Linked DNA regions of Homo sapiens: region 2 is linked to region 1. The links are contacts of gene promoters, found by promoter capture Hi-C in human tissues and cell types (Jung and others, 2019). All regions are on one chromosome and are shown on one strand. Each heading gives the region's core, a stretch centred on a gene start or on the middle of the fragment in contact. The rest is flanking DNA. Distances are from core to core; before and after follow the strand shown.

Region 1 (5,339 bases), core at 1,127-3,626:
GTAGAACATTAGCCACAATATTAGAAATTATGGTTTAGGAGTCATGCAGCTGGAGGCTACAAGATTCTGCCCCTCCTTAAACTGCTCCCAAGATCAGTGCTTATTTTTCAGACCCAGCACTTAGGGGATCAGCTGGCACCACCCAGATCAATAAACTGGCTCATCTGATTTTGTGACTCCCCAAACCAGAAACACTCAGCGCAAGAAGACAGCTTCTACTCCCTATGATTTCATCCCTGACCAATCAGCACTCTAGTTCACTGGGTTCCCCGCACCAAATTATTCTCAAAAACTCTGATCCCCAAAAGCTCAGGGAAGACTGATTTGAGTTATAATAAAACACTAGTCTCCCGCACAGCCGGCTCTGCGTCAATTACTCTTTCTCCATTGCAATTTACTTGTATTGATCAATCAGCTCTGTCTAGGCAGCACGCAAGGTGAACCCCTTGGGCGGTTACAGCATGTTGCCATTTAAGGGACAGAGGTACTGTCCCTTGGCCTCTAGGCTTTCTCATCACACTTTCTTATCCACAAACTGTTTAATCCAATTTTGCTTGGAAAATTACTAGTCATCTTATGTAAATTCCTGTGGCCATTCACATTGGGACATACTACATACTACTTCCTTCTTACATGAGAAGTGGCTAATTTAAAAAAAGTGTGCATTTCTGAGTGCCTGCTGTTAATACTTCAGGGTTCCTATTTTGTCTAAATGTGTGAGCCACGGCCATCTTCATCAGGCACAGAAACGTCCTATACCTCAATTTCAGGTGCTTTAAAATCTGAATGACCATCCCTTCAAACTTCCTCTATCAAAGTATATTTCATACATGCCATTTAACCTGTTTTAAGGTGGGTTTTTCCCAAAAAAGTAGTGCAAATCCATGTCCAACCATTTTCTCATTATGGTGTACAAGAAAGAAACTTCATTTTATCCAGGTAAGTTTGCTTCCTTTCCCCCTACCTCCAACTGTTTTTCCTTATTTGCATTCACGTGGATGTTTTAAATTTATATTTTGGATTTTGATTATTCAGTGTGTACAAAATTTAGTACATGCAGGATTTAGAAGGGACTGCAAAAGTCACTTTAAAAAAAAATTACCACCTTTTCAGTAAAGCCTCTTAATGGGGAAATGTGGTATGTGACTAGAAGTTGACTAATTTTCTTAGATGGAAGTATAAAATAAAAAGAAGCTCTGTTGTCACAAATGCGGATGGGGGGAAGAGGACAGACTTCATGCAGGACTGGAGTTGGACAGGGTTCAGGGCTGAGAACACACCTTACTACCCTGGCTTCCCCTTCTCTACTTTCAAGACTGAACCAATGTGCCCTATACAAGGCGAAGAATACACCCGGTCACTCCGCGGTGGTTAGAGTGGAGATTCACTGGGTGCAGTCTAAAGCGGGACGCAGTCTGGGGGCCACCGTCACAAGCTGCTTACAGCAACCTAGAGTTGTCGAGATTAATGTTTCTGGAATGTGAAGTGACTTAAAAAAAAATTAATCACTTCCTGGCTCGGTGCGGTTGCCTGTAATCCTGGCACTTTGGGAGGCCGAGATGGAGGATCGCTTGAACCCAGGAGTTCCAGACTAGGCTGGGCAACATGGTGAGACCTCCTCTCTACAAAATAAAAATAAGCCAAGCATGGTCGCGCGCGCCTGTAGTTCCAGCTACTCGGAGGCTGAGGTGGGAAGATCCCTTGGAGTTCCAGACTGCAGTGAGCCGTTATTGCGCCACTGCACTCAGGCCTAGGCGACAGAGCGAAACCCTGTCCCCCACGCCCAAAAAATCGTATTTCCTGAGGGAACAGTTCCAACTAAACATCCCACTTTGTGCGTAACTTTACATTCAATCCATCATCACCTCAAGAACAAAATGTTCTTTCTCCGCCTCAAACATGGAGGACAGAAAAACAGAAGTTCTCTCAAACCCACCAAGCACGCTGTTTTCCTGAGACGGAAAAGAAGGATAACAGCCGCTACGGCGCACAGCCTGTAGGGGAGGACGGCAACCAGGAAAGGCCAAACTTAGCCGCAGTAGTGCCGGGGCGTGCTCGCGGCCCACGGCGTCCCACGTCGTCCCACGTCAGCCTTGTCCCGGCAGAGCTTCACGAGAGGAAAGGCGGGATTCAGGGTGGGCGCGTGCCCTACGAAGACGAAACGAACTTTGAAGACAACTAGAGGAGCTCGCCCCCTGCCTGTGACAGCTTAGGGTCGCCTACTTTTTGTGGACACACTGCCGTCCACGGAGTGCAGAGGCCGCCTGCAGTTTTCTTGCGTCCCTGTGAGACGCACGGTGGCGCAATTCCCGAGCGTGCCAATCCCGGGCTGGCTGGAGGGCGGGCTCTTCAAATTTGAATTGCGGAAGTGTTTTGTGTGTTAGAGAACGTCGCGGAGGAGGTAAGCGTCGCTTGGCGCCTGGCCGCCGCGGGCAGGATACACCGTGGGCCTGAGGCGCGAGCCCGGCGGCGTGCGGCCCTCTCTCCGCGCGGAGCCGAGCCGGAACTGCGGCAGTCTCTCCCTGCCAGGCTCTTCATCCAAGGTACGTCCTCCCCGCGCCCTCCGCTAACCTCCTACCGCGGGTCCCCGCAGATGGTGGGCGTCTGCCCTTTAAGCATCTCGGCTCACGCGGTTTTATTTATTTTTTTTGTAGATTTCTGGCTTTGGTACGGATTTTATACTTCGCACTCGATGTTTACTTGTTGCGTGTCTACTGTACTTAAGAGAGTAGAACACGATTGCTCAAATTTATTTCGATGGTGAGCGTTCTAGGTCTTTGTTCTAAAATAAATTTTTTTTTTTTTTTTTTAGAATACCAAGTGGGAAAATTGTATTCCTCAGTACCCAACTCTTCCCCTTGGGACCCCAGGACCCACAGGGCTATAGAAGCAGTTGATCATTCAGCTTATGTTTTCTTCTGGTTAAATTGCATGCTTGTTGCAAACATCTTTAGATGTTAATAAAATTATTTAGAAAATGGTCGGGCGCGGTGGCACACGCCTGTGATCCCACACTTTGGGAGGCCGAGGCGGGTGGATCTTTTGAGCTCAGGAGTTCAAGAAAATGGTAGGCCACTTCATCCTGGCCTTCAAAGATAAACACTGTTTACAATTTGGTTCACCGCTTCCAGAGTTTTTCTCTATGCCTGTATGTGTTTTATTTATTTACTTAAAAATTTTTTTAAACAAATGCAATTCTATGTTGTTACTTTCTTTTTCAATTTAATGTTTCTTGGATACTTTTCCATATAAGTACATATATATCTTTTTATTGAATACATAGAGTAAATTGTATGGATGTGGCGGGATTTATTTTGTCCTTTATTGGTAGACATCTGGGTTGTTTCATTTCATTTTATGCTGCAGTGAACTTCCCTGTGTAGTGGGTGTGTAGACTGTTGCCTGTTGGTAAATAACTGAAGCTATGGAGTCGGGTAGAATCGGTTCCTCTTTCTCACTTATTGTCAAGTGACCTTGGGCAGCTTACTTAACCACCTTATACCTTAATTTCTCTTTTTTCAAATTGGGAGTAATAACAGTACTTAACTCTTTAGAGTTGCTGTTAGATTATATAGTGGCTGGCATGTAAATATTCAGTAAATATCGGCAATTATGGTACATATATATTTGCATTCTTACGCAGATGTTTCTATAGGAAAAAACAAGTTAGAAGTGGAATTTCCGTGTCAATAGTATGCATACTTGCATTTTGAAATTAATATTTACCAATGTGATATGAAAAAGAAATCTCACTGTTTTAGTTTGCATCTCCATTTATTAGTAAAATCAGGTGTCACAACTCGTTTATTGGCCTTTTGTATTCTATTAATCACCTTTCATGTCCCATGACCATTTTCTGTTTTGTATATTTTTTAAAGTTGATTTATTAGGTCTCTTTGAATGTTATTTAAATTAGCCCTTTGTCATATGTGCTGAGTATTTTTTTCAAGTGTATCATTTGCCTGTTAACTTAAAATTCTATTTTCCCCCTAATTCTATGTCCCAGTTTTGGTTAGTGTGCTCTGGGATTTTTGACCCATTCCATAGTAATAGTTATTACTACTACCACTACAGTAAATTCTTACAAGAACTTTCCATGTTTTTTGGGAGGAGGAGGAGGAGTAGTTACATTCAGGATCATATACATAATTGTTTAGCTTCAGTTCTGTATTTATATATGTCACTTGTAACTGACTGGGATACGTTCTGAGAAATACATTCTCAGGTAATTTTTGTCATTGTGCCAATATCATAGAGTGTACTTATAAAAACCCAGGCTATATATTATAACCTATTCTGGGCTTCAAACCTGTACAGCATGTTACTTTACTGAATACTGTTGGCAGTTGTAACACAATGATAAGTATTTGTGTATCTAAACATACCAAAATATAGAAAAGGTACAGTAAAAATAAGTTTAAAAAAAAGGTACACCAAAATAATCTTATGGGACCACTGTGTATGTGGTTTGATGTCATTATGCAGTGCATGACTGTACTATAAATGCTTATGGCCAGCCCTTTTTTTTTTTTTTTTTTTTTGAGGCAGAGTCTTGATGTCTCGCCCATGCTGGAGTGCAGTGGCGCGATGTCGGCTCACTGCAAGCTCCGCCTCCCGGGTTCACTCCATTCTCCTGCCTCAGCCTCCCAAGTAGCTGGGAATACAGGCGCGTGTCACCACGCCCGGCTAATTTTTTGTATTTTTAGTAGAGACCGGTTTTCACCGTGTTAGACAGGATGGTCTCCATCTCCTGACCTCGTGATTCGCCGTCATTCGCCTCGTGATCACTTGGCCTCCCAAAGTGCTGGGATTACAGGCGTGAGCCACCGCACGCGGCCTGGCCAGCCCTTTCATCCAATGGTTTTCCCATTCCCATGTCTTTATGTTGAAAACAATTTTTTTTCCCTAGTACATCAACATTTGTCAGTTTTTAGAATAAGTTTTAAGGATTAGATTTTTCCAAACAACTTTAAGCAGTTAATGAAAACGGAAACATACTTTCTCCAGTCTGAGAGGAACTAACAATTTCTTGTTAGTGACCTCCATCTGTTAGGTCAACAAATGTGCTTGGCTTCAGGACAGGCGTTCTTTCCTCCACTTGCGGGTTGCTAGTTACTAAATCTCCACTAATGTCTGTGTTTCATCAGAGGCTGATTTCTTTGTTTAGCTGTTTTGACTAGGAAGGAAATGGAGCTTCAGATGTGTCCTGGATTATCTAGACCCAGTGGTTTTTCTTGTTTATCTATTCTGCAGAGCCTCTGTGGTCAGAGGAAATTGTAGACGATTTTTTTCTTGGCTTATATTGAGTTGCTGTTTATCACATGGTGGGAAAAAGGTCT
Region 2 (5,339 bases), core at 814-3,313, 1.4 Mb after region 1:
AGCAATTTATTTTCACTAGACATTTGCAGATTTAATAACCGGATTTTCAACATGTCATAAGATGGGAGTTTTTATATATTCCTTTTATAGATGAGGAAACATGTTTAATGAGGTTAATGTCATCCAAATAAGTGGCTAATTTAGGGAAGAACTCCTGCTTTGTGATTCTCTGTCCAGTGTTCTATTACGTTTTTCTGATTATGAGTGTCCTCTTGTCATCAATTATTTTCTATAGTTAACATAATTAAAAAAAAAATTTAAAGAATAAGCCTAAAATGACTGAAGATCCCAAAAGCCATATTATCCTCAGCAACACTGTTTGAACCAAGTGATTGTTTGAAGTTATTGTCAATTTCTAAGCCAATATAGTTATAGATGTAAATTTTAATGTATTCTCTTTATTTCTACAAGATGTAGATTTTTCAAAATTTTGGCAGGGAAAAGGTTCAAGGGGACCTCATACTTTACTATTCAAAAATTCACTGGTGATTTTTCTTTACAAAATATTCATTTAAAAAAATTCTTGTTAAACAAATAACAGTTATCTTTATCATGCACTTGAAAGAAACTTAGCTTCTATTCATTCATTTTTTTCTTTTGCGAAAGGGCATTTGAGAAGAGCCACTTGCTTAATTTGTAAAGGCGTTACAAATAACTCTAAAACTTCTTATAACAAGGTACAAGTGCATACAAGGGGAAGAGGTTTTCCTTAAAGACGTAGCTAGTCTACACACATAAATATAAGAATATAACTTGTTAATTTCCTTTCAGAAAGGCATCAAAATTCATGCTTTACTAAATGTCTATTTTTTTGTTACAACTTCAACTGCCAACAATGTATTGACCTTCTAGAAAGTGACATGCAAAATTTTGTCTTACATTGTGTATATCACAAAATGACTACTGCATTTTACAAATACTGATTAATGAAAAATACTTTGGCTCCATTCGTGGTCTTTTTGCTGGTTCTTACCATGATAAATATGCTTGTATATGTAACCCTCACAATCTTGGTCATGAATCAACTAGTTAAATTTCTGAACCACTCCATAGCAACCCTTGTAGGAGAATATTTAATGATATTAAAAATAATATTTTAAGTAATGGCCAAATGTGGGTTCACTCGCCAATCAGATGCTCAAGTAAGAAGTTCTCATCACAAGAGCTTTCAGCACTCTCTCTTTGACACTGAAGGGGTGCAAAGCGAGCCATATAAGAAGAAAATGGGAGATTTTTAGTGAAAAATGAGCAGAAACAATGCTCTCAGATTAAAGCTGCAATTTGAAGTAGTCATTTCTTGGCTGTCATCAACAAGAAAAGAAATGTAACTCCACAGTGCACTTTGAGCAAGTGCCTAATCAAAGATAGTCTTCCTAATAAAGGTCAGTTAATGTACTACAACAAGCACTAGCCCAGCCAGCCATCTCAGCCCTAAAAGGTCCTGGGAAAATCAAGAGATAATTCAGGTTGAATTTGCAGTAGCTAATCTCCACCTTACCTGCACCACCTCTGTAGCTCAGGATTATTACAAATCCCTTACTTAGAATTGGAATCAGACATGAACCCATTAGTGTTTTACATATATAAATATGTTAATTATATATTCTCATTGTAGAAACTTGATTTATTTAAATCAAATTATGGCTTTATCATAATAAATCCCTTGCTGTATTTTTCTCCATCCAAAACAACAGAAGTTGGAACTGAATATCTATAAACCTCTCACCAAGTTAAGATTACAATGCCCAGAGTGTGCCAAAAAATAAAAAGAAAGTCTTGCAGGATTCCTTCATTTCTTATTTTGCCTGCACATTTTATGAATTATAATGTAACTCTCAAACAAATGTCTGCATTTTGGAATAGTTTCATAACTATTACTGAACAATCTCATCATTAGCATTTTCACATTCCAAGCTGTAGTGTCCTCCTAATTAAAATTTCATGTTTACCCCTCTGCATAAGCTTGCCAAATTCTGAAGACTTTCAAGCAACTCATGTTCTGCTCATGAATACAGCCAGCACACGTCAATTCTCAATAAAAGGTTTCACATCAGTCTACTCTCATTTTCGTTATCCATCACAGTGCTTCCTGCCTGTATTATGCCAAAATGACTTTTTCACATCTTTGTAAGCTTATTTCCAGACTCTTCTAAGCATTGCCAAGATCAGATTACTTTGATTGCCATGGCTGTGTATTCTAAGCTCTTCGCAGACACAGAACCTGCCATAATTAGAAGAGAAAAGCTAACATGTTAAATGTTTGAATTGAATCAATAATTAACTGTGTAACTTTAACTATGGTCAAGGTTTTTTGTTTGTTTTGTTTTGTTTAACAACTACAGTAATTCCCCTTTATCTGTAAAGGATATGTTTTAAGACCTCTGGTGGATGCCTAAAACTACAGATTGTACCAAACCCTATATAGTGTATACTATGTTTTTTTCCTTATACATACATACATACCTATTATAAAGCTTAATTTATAAATTAGTCACAGTAAGAGACTAATGACAATAATAACAAAATAGAATAATTATAACAACGTAGTGAAATAGAAGTTATGTGAATGTGGTCTCTCTCTAATATTTTATTTTACTCTACCATAGGTAACTAAAATGGCAGAAAAAAAGCTTCAGGTAAGGGAGGACTACTGTATATCTTGCATGTCATAGTTGATTAAGACAGCTACTTTTTCTCCAAATGACTGTCGTTAATTGAAAGAATTAGAATAGCTACAGAGATATATCTATATAGGTAATGTAATAAATATTCTAGGTTTTTTTTACTCCATTTGTAAAAGGGACATTGAGCCATACATAAGGTATGAGATATTCCTTTGGGCTCTAAGTACTGTTTTTTATGAGATTAATAAGTGAAAAACACAACTGATCAGTCACAACCTTCAAAAGAAGAAGAATTTCAACAAAAAAATAGGTTGAATGCCATGTATAAACTTAAGATGTGTATAATTTTGTGGAGGAAGCAGAACGTGTACTGGTTTAAAGTCATAGTAATCCAATTTAAAAATGGAGAAATTCAGTCTCATTAAAGTAGATGATCTGACAAATAAATTACCACCCTTAGTTAGTGACAGAAAGAATCAAATCCCATGTTTTCTCTATTATCTGCTTTCAGTATCACAGCCCCAATTCTGGAGATATCCCCACACTTTTTTCTTTAATCTAATATTCCAATAAATCACTCTTTAAATTCAGTACTTCTAGACCCAGAACCTAAGATGGGTATTCTTATGTAAGTGATGCATTAAGGGTATTCTAGCAAGAGAAGCTTATAAGAAAGAGAATAATAGATAAAGAAGGGGATTTATTAGTCTGCTCAAACTGTCATAACAAAATACCACAGACTGAGTGGCTTAAACAACAGATATTTGCCTTCTCACAGATATGGAAGCTAAACATCCACGACCAAAGTACTGAACAATTCCATTCCTGGTGAGGGCTTTCTTCTTGACTTGCAGACAGCTCACTTCTTGGTTTATTATCCCATCTTTTCCTCCATATGCTTGCAGAGGGACAGATCTCTGGCATCTCTTCTTCTTCTTATAAGGATACAAGTCTTGTTAGATTAGCATTCACCCTTATGACCACATTTAATTTAGTTACCTCCCTAAAGACCACATCTCCAAATACCTTGGGGGTTAGGATTTCAACCTGGAGATTTGGTAGATGCACACTTAAGTCCATAACAGGTAAACCCAAACAACAATATAGTTTTAGCTGAAGTCTAGTCTTAGTTGACACAGAAGGAAATATAATGTGCACCACAGAATTAGTCCTGCCGAGGCTAGAGAGATAGGCTTTTGTGCCAGTTTTCTCACCACACCCAACCAAATAACATCACATTGGCTATTCATGTTAGTAAATTTGATAGGGGCAGGCAAGCATCCAAATTGGGGCTTAGCCTGACAGGGTGCTTGGCTTTGCCCACGAAAGAATTCAAGGGTGAGCTGAAGGTATTAGCAACTTTTATTGAAGTGTACAGCAGCAGCAGAGGTACTACTTTTGGTGGAGCAGGACTAACCCTTAGTCAGTATGCCCAGAGTAGCAGTGTATGGGCTGTTGGCAGCTGTTTTTATACCCACTTTTAATTAAGAGGCAGATTACTTAGAACTTTCTGAAAAAAAAGGTGGGGAACTTTTATAAGGTAATTTTTGGGCTATTGTCATCATGCATTGCCATGGTGCATTTGTCATGGCACCAGTGGGAGTGGCTTTATGTTAATGGGCAGTGAAGGCAACTAGAGATTGTTTTTATTGCCATCGACTGATTTTGACTGGCTTCTTTACTGCACCCTGTTTTGACCAGATTCTAATCTGATTAGTAGGGTCATGACCAGTGTCACGATGAGTGCTTGGAAAACAAGTCCGGATGATCTCCTACCTCAGATTGTGGGGTGATATAAACCGCAGGGTTGATCCATTCATACAAAGACAGTACTCTGGAGGAGTTTCCAGGTGGGAGCCGTTAACAGCAATACAAGCAAAAGTTAGGAGATGGGGATATTAAATCAATGAAAGAGATCTCAGAGGATTTGGGCAGGTTCCAGTCAGATCTGCAAAGTCACCAAATTATGTGTTTCACTTATCCAAATGCCGTGCTCATGCCCCTGTTGATTCTCATCTAGATATTACAGTAGCCTCTGATCTTGCTGCTTCCAGTGTTTCCCTTCTCCATTCCATTCTTCTTGTTGTATTTTTAAAACACAAAAATGAGCATGCCACAACTCTCTAAAATCAGTGACATCCTTAAGGGAAATGTCAAACTCTTATGTGCAACACCTAAGGCTCAATTTATCTGAACCTGGTCTACTTTTCTATCTTCATCCATGGCAGTGTCTAGACCCACATACCATGCTTAATTATACCTAACAAATTACTATTTGTTGAATCTCCCAAGCTTAACTAAACTATGAGGAATTTCTGGAACTATTTTATCCACTTAGTTTGCCCAATAGTCCTCTTGTTCAATTGACTTTCTTGTACTTACTCTAAATTTAACTAAAATGTCATTCTCTGTAGGAAGTTGTCAACCCACTCAAACTCAGGCTAGTTTAGTTGCCTACAGGGCTACTTGAGCAGAATATATATATATCAGAGCATTTCATATTATGTTATAGTTAGTTGTTTTATATATCTAATTAGTATTAATAGTATAAACCACATGTGTCAGAAGAAAAAAATTAATTTGTGTCAAGAAGAAAAAAGAGAGTGCATCTCTGAAGCATTATAGCTATTAAAAGCTAAGCAAAAATTAGATTTAACCTAGAAAGTAATAAGAAGTCACTGAAAAAAGTAAAGTTTAGTCATAATCTGTCAAAAT

The links. The method cuts DNA at HindIII sites, captures the fragments that hold promoters and counts their contacts. A contact is called where the count stands out against the background at its distance.
Region 2: a contact is called between a fragment that was not itself captured here and the fragment with the promoter of MIS18BP1 in region 1, in 1 of the 25 tissues and cell types used here (lymphoblastoid cells).

What each region holds. Positions count from the first base shown.
Region 1 is chr14:45,250,239-45,255,577 of GRCh38, reverse strand. It overlaps MIS18BP1 (MIS18 binding protein 1), which reads left to right and starts at 2,376. Exons shown (of 17, transcript NM_018353.5): 1 at 2,376-2,543. It overlaps LOC107984674 (a long non-coding RNA gene), which reads right to left and starts at 2,287. Exons shown (of 4, transcript XR_001750746.2): 1 at 1,937-2,287. RefSeq lists enhancers at 1,728-1,787, 1,858-2,047, 1,209-2,158, 2,068-2,247, 2,348-2,407 and 1 more. The HindIII fragment of the contact is 14,218 bases long and covers 1-5,339 here.
Region 2 is chr14:43,874,408-43,879,746 of GRCh38, reverse strand. No RefSeq gene overlaps it. Among named protein-coding and RNA genes, the nearest start is that of LINC02307, 510 kb to the left of the region's middle. The HindIII fragment of the contact is 4,079 bases long and covers 24-4,102 here.